Linked DNA regions of Homo sapiens: region 1 is linked to region 2. Evidence: promoter capture Hi-C in human tissues and cell types (Jung and others, 2019). All regions are on one chromosome and are shown on one strand. The core of a region is centred on a gene start or on the middle of the fragment in contact, and the rest is flanking DNA. Distances in the headings are between cores, read along the strand shown.

Region 1 (3,103 bases), core at 40-2,539, 67 kb after region 2:
TTTCCAAAATTTTGGTTAAAGCTAGAATGGAAGTGGGCAGAGAAGGGCTCCTTTGCTTTTGAGGGGTCAGTGGGAGAACGGATGTGGTAGAAAGTTAGCTTGGTTCACTACCATGCTTCTCTCCTGGTGGGCTGCCACATTTCTGTGGGTGGATATGTATGAGTTATGAGAAAAGGCTGGGGGCAAAGCTGGTGTTCGGATCTATGTTTTGGGGAGCTGTGCCCTCATTTTGGAGGAGCCAGTGTCTGGAAAGTGATTCTGAGAGACAACTAGCAGAGGAGAAGGAATTAATGGTCACAGTTTATGAAGAAAAAGAACCAGGATTGCATACTAAGCCCTCTACTGCACACACAGCCTAACCTCTCTATAAGGCAAAGATGTAACCATACATATATTTACCAGGGCTGTTTTCTGACTGAGATATGGAATAGAGAAAAGGTTAGATATGCCTGTCTGAGCAGCCTACAGATTGAAGAATAGTTTTTAGTATCCTTTTGGTTTTTTTTTTTTTATTTGAGATGGAGTCTCGCTCTGTCGCCCAGGCTGCAGTGCAGTGGCATGATTTTGGCTCACTGCAAGCTCCGTCTCCTTGGTTCACACCACTCTCCTGCCTCAGCCTCCCAAGTAGCTGGGACTACAGGTGCCTGCCACCACGCCTGGCTAATTTTTGTATTTTTAGTAGAGACGGGGTTTCACCGTGTTAGCCAGGATGGTCTCAATCTCCTGACCTTGCGATCCACCCGCCTTGGCCTCCCAAAGTGCTGGGATTACAGGCATGAGCCACCGTGCCCAGCCACTATCCTTTTAGTTTTTAGAGTTTAAAGCCTTATTTGGTGTTTAAATTTCTTTCAGAATTATAATGAAGTAAAATGAAATGTTTAATTGATCTAATTCAAGCATTTAAAGATACTAACATTTTTGTCTGAGTTTTGATGCACGAATTTACCACTTAATTCTAATTAGCCTGATCATTGCCAGCACTTTCCCATGCATCCATTCAGGAGGAAGCTAAGGAAACCTTCCCCACCGTAACTTTTTCCTTCTCCATGAATTCACCTGTTAATCAGATGCTTCTTTGTGCTGGTACACAGTTCTGTGGTAGCACTTATTATATGGTTCTTGTCTCTTCAGTGTCTCATTTATTTACTGCACTGTGAGCATGTGAACAGAGCAAGTATCTTAATCACTTATGGAGCTTCCAAACTTGAACCACTTCATGGTTTAGCCCCAAATGCAGACACTAAGGTAGTGTATCCTTATGCTATTTGAACTGATCTGTTTTTAAACATTCTGGTTATTTTCTAAAAAGCTCATTTGAATAAAGAAATTATAAAATGAGAACTCATTTTTACTGTCTATATGACATTTAGAGAATTAATTTTGTCTGAGAGAATGAAAACATTTACTTGTGAAATAAGGCAAATAAGAATTTTATTTAAAAGATTTGATTCACACAGAAAAATTTCTGTTTAATTGATCTTGGGGAAAAATGGGGAAAATTTGGTATGCTTTTGAGTAAAAACGTTTTTATATTGGGTAAATTTTTATTTTATAAAATAAAAATGTAATGAAAGTTATATATAGTGTTCAAATTATTGTCTAGTTTTTGTGTTTTACAAAATTGTAGTTACTGAAATTTGTAACATGGACTCCTTGATCAGTTAACTAATTTAAATGGACATTTTGTTACATTGGTGCATTAGGTAGAACAATGTTGGATGCAAACAGAAAATTTCAATACAAGCTTACTTGAAAAAGAAGGACGTTTAGAATCTCTTTTAAGTGGATGTTCATGTAGTTTTGATGCCAGAGGTGATTGATACAGACTAGAAGCTCAATAATGTCATTCCAGACTCATGTTAAGTGTTCTTTTTGTGGATGGGAGTTCATCGCTAGTCTCTGACATTCTGTGGTGGCCCCATCCTCTGGCTGTTAGCAGCAGATACCACTTTCAGCTATAAGAATAGTACTACTGGGTGTGGTAGCTCATGCCTGTAATCCCAGCTACTCAGGAGGCTGAGGCAGGAGGATCTATTGAGCCCAGGAGTTTGAGACCAGCCTGGGCAAGAAAGTGAGAGGTCATCTTTACGAAAAATTTTTAAAAATTAGCTGAGCAGTGTGGCATATACCTGTAGTCCCAGCTACTCAGGAGGCAGAGGTGAGAGGATCCCTTGAGCCCAGGAATTCAAGGCTGCAGTGAGCTATTATCATGCCACTGCACTGCAGTCTGGGTGATAGAGTGAGACCCTGTCTCAAAAGTAAAAACAAAACAAAACAAAACAAAATAGTACCATCTTTTTTTTTAAGATGGGAAAAAACCTTTCCCAGAAATCTTGTGGCAGACTTGCCTTCTCATTGGCAAGAATTGGGACCCTTTGATTTTCCTAAACCACCATTGACAAAATACATGGGTGACAGTGCCTGGTTGCAATAGTTCTGGGGAGTAAAACAGAGTACTATTGTAATGGGTAAATCCAGACTGCCTTTATACAAATATCAAAATGCTTTGCAGAATGTGGAAAGAAAATGGATTGCATTGCAGTCTATTTTTCTGAATGGAAATAGTTTTATTAATATAAGAAAATAAAAACAAATTTTATAAGTACACATTACATTTGTAGAGAATTAAAAATACCACAACAAAGGATATTTTTTCTGTTTTTCTAAACTTTGGAGCCAGGCATATGGTAACATTTCTTTTTTATTTTAGGCTTTTGCATTACAGATATTACTTTTTCCCCAGTGCCATTGGTTATTGGAACAGGATCTAAAGGTTTATTTTTATTTGTGGAAAAAAAAATTTTAAAATCATTTCCTCAAAAATATTAATTCATATTTTTATTTGTTTATTTGATAAGGGCCAGTCAATAGATAAATTGACAGAATGGTACTTAATGTAGAATTAGATTTTCAAAGATAATGTGAAGCATAAGTGAAACATTAGTTCTTAAATAGGGACTGCCTAGAGATCTTACTTGAGCCTTCGGCTGTGGTCTTTCGGTAGAGTTGATAACTGGTGAAGAATATTAAGGTTCAGAAAAGGTCTCGGGGATATTGCAGATGTTATTTCTCTGTCAAATGTAGTCATTTGCACACCTGCAGC
Region 2 (2,870 bases), core at 1-2,500:
TATTGATAAGTGCAAAAAGATTACATTTAATGTTTAAAAAAGATTTAATAGAAACAATTTAAGAAAAGGGAGTAGTTGAAAGAAAATAGTAGGCTAAGAATTGAATATAGAAATAGATATGAAGAAAATTGGAAGAAAGTTACTTCAGGGTGAAAAACTGTTAAAAAAAAAAATGACTTAGATCACACACTTGGTGGTGACCAGAGACTGTTTGTCAATATTTTGGAGGAAAAAAATTTTACAGAAGGAGAAAATAAGTAATGCTGGAGAGTGGGAAGCTGAAAGGTATTGAAAGGAAAAGAGTATTTGGAAGTCACGAGATATCTCCCTGGGAAATAGAGTTGGCAAAATGGCTGATTTTAAAGAGGTTAACTATTCTCCCCAAATTTCTGACTGTGAACTAGCTTACTTTATATTTACCCACTTAGAAAGTGTTTCAACACTTAAAGACTTAGCAAGGAGACCACAAAGTATAAGACGTTACATACTTTTCCAAAAGAAACACGACTAACTGTAAACTGTCATCAAATACAAATGGAATGGGTTTTCTCTTTTGGGTTTTATTTTTTTATTTTTAATTTTTTGGTGGTTGTTTTCGTTTAACGGTTTCAAAAAATATGTAGAAGGGAAATATTTCATTTCCCTTGGACGCTCAACTGTATATATTTCAAGATTCTTAAAACCCCCACCTCAAACTGCAGGCTTAATTTTAATGTGTTCATTTTTTACAAGGTGTGTCAACGTTTTATCAATTTCTGAAAAGTGTCTATGGCCCCGAAAAGTTGAAATCCACGACATTATATCATCTCTGCGAGCCCTTTCCAGCTCTCAAGGTACAATAATTCCACGAATCTTTGTTCTTCAAACCAGGAGGTTTTCTGGAAACCTTCTTAAACAACCAGGACAGGACCCATGAGGGAAATCTTGGGGATGCTCTGAGCAGCGGACGGGGCTTGGGAAGCGCACCCCTGTACCCGGGCTGCCTCCGGCCCGCACCCCGCCGCTCCCCAAGTCGGCTCCGCACTCCGCACACAGGCGGCGGCGCTGGGGCCGCTCCAAGTGCGTTGAGAAGTGTAATCCCTCCGCTAAGTACTTGGCTCTCAGTCTCCAATCACTAGTGGGAGCTGGAGAGGGCAAGTGAAAAAAAAAAATTCCAGAGGCAGCCGAGGAGCGAGAGGGAAAAAAAAAAAAAAAAAAAAAAAAAGTCCCGCGGTGGCGGCGGCGGCGGCGGCGGAGCGGCCGCGGCGGCCAGAAGTTGACGGCGCAGCCGGGCGCGGGGCGCGGAGTCGGCGGGGCCTCGCGGGACGCCGGGCAGTGCGGAGACCGCGGCGCTGAGGACGCGGGAGCCGGGAGCGCAGCCGCGGGTAAGGCGCGCGCGGCGGGGCCCCGTCCCCTGCGGGTGGCCGAGTTCCCGAGCGCGCGGGAGGCGGCCGAGCCGGCGAGAGCCGGGCAGAGCGAGGGGCGGCGCGGGACGGGTAGCGGCTGGGTGCGGAGCTGGGCGGCGGTCGCCCTAGGCAGGACGGAGCGCGCGAGGGAGAGGGCGAGAGCGAGGGCGGGCTGCGCGGCCGTGGGGCGGTGGCGGCGGCGGGGAGGGGGTCAGGCGGTGGCCGCCTCGGCTTTGTGCGCGGGCGGCTCTGCCGGGACCCCGAGGCCTCGTGCCTGCGCAGGCGAGGAGTCGGGGCAGCGGCGGCGGCGGGCGGGACACGTGCTTCGGGCTGTAGGGACGCCCCAAGGCAGGGAGTCGGACCTGCGAGCGGAGGGATGGGGCGGGAGGGCGAGCTGAGGGCAGTCGCGGAATCCGGGAAATGGGAGGGAGCCCGGCGGGGCGGGGGCCCAGGGCCAGCCCAGGCGGGACCCGCAGGCACCCACCTGCCCCGGACGCCTCCCGAGACCCAGCCTTGCCGTGGGGGAAAGTGCGCAGCGGGCTGGTCCCGGCGCCTTGGACTGGGCTCCGTCTCTGCTTCAGTTGCCTGTCTCTTCTCCTCTCTCTCCTGCTTCTCTCTCTCTATGCCTCTCTCTCAAGTTCTGGGTCTTTCATTCTCTCCCTTTTCTTCCTTTCTCCCTTCCTCTCCTTATTGCTATCCTTTGCCTCTCCCCCCGGTCTCTCTTTCCTTCCGTGCGTCTGTCTCCCTCTCCCCACCGCCTGCTCTGGCTCTCCCAGTGTGTCCCTCCTCTGTCCCTTCATCCTCTTCCCTCTGTCACTTTCGCACAATCTTTTGGTCTCTCTCTCTCTCTCAAGAGGCTTTCGCTCCCGGTCTTCCTGGCTCCCCTGTCTCTTGCTCTCTGCGCCCATCTCTCTGCTCGTCCCTCTTTCTGTCCAGGCTCCGTGTTTCCGCCTGTGTTTGGCGGTGTTGGAGAAGAGCCTCTGGAAGTTGTCCGCTGTGGTGCGGGTCTTACTTCTTTAGAGCTGCACCCCTCCAGCTGGGTCCTGCTGTTTGTTCTGAATGGAAACGCTGCAGTTCCCTTGAGTTATTAGAAACTGCTCTTTTCTTAGCCACCTTTCCAGCAAGGTGAGGTCAGTGACTACGAGCGGCCACAAAGGTGCCAGTGAAAGACAACGGAGGAAGAGAGCCGTTTCACTACCTCCAACAGATAAAGAAAATGTGTTAATACCAAACTTACCTGCAGCAAAGCAGAGCCACCTGAGAAAAGGTTCTTGAGTTCTGCAAAGAAACATAAAAGGCTCCACTGGAAATGAGAGGGTTCAGCTAAAAAGTGTTTGCAAATAATTTGAAAAAGCACTTAATGGAAATCTCTTGCTGTGCTAAATTGATGCCAACGAATCTCTGTTTTCTTACATATATTTTTAGGATTCCAGTGACAACTCTCCTAATTATTGTTTTGGGCAAGTTATGGGAAATGTCCTGTGT

Evidence for each region. Contacts are between HindIII fragments. The study calls those that stand out against the background at their distance.
Region 1: a contact is called between a fragment that was not itself captured here and the fragment with the promoter of BMPR1B in region 2, in 2 of the 25 tissues and cell types used here (dorsolateral prefrontal cortex and mesenchymal stem cells).

What each region holds. Positions count from the first base shown.
Region 1 is chr4:94,823,251-94,826,353 of GRCh38, forward strand. All of the region lies in intron 1 of BMPR1B (bone morphogenetic protein receptor type 1B), which reads left to right. Among named protein-coding and RNA genes, the nearest start is that of BMPR1B, 67 kb to the left of the region's middle. The HindIII fragment of the contact is 5,155 bases long and covers 1-3,103 here.
Region 2 is chr4:94,756,705-94,759,574 of GRCh38, forward strand. BMPR1B (bone morphogenetic protein receptor type 1B) reads left to right here and starts at 1,251. Exons shown (of 13, transcript NM_001203.3): 1 at 1,251-1,364. It overlaps BMPR1B-DT (BMPR1B divergent transcript), which reads right to left and starts at 829. Exons shown (of 3, transcript NR_121610.1): 1 at 690-829. The HindIII fragment of the contact is 6,502 bases long and covers 1-2,870 here.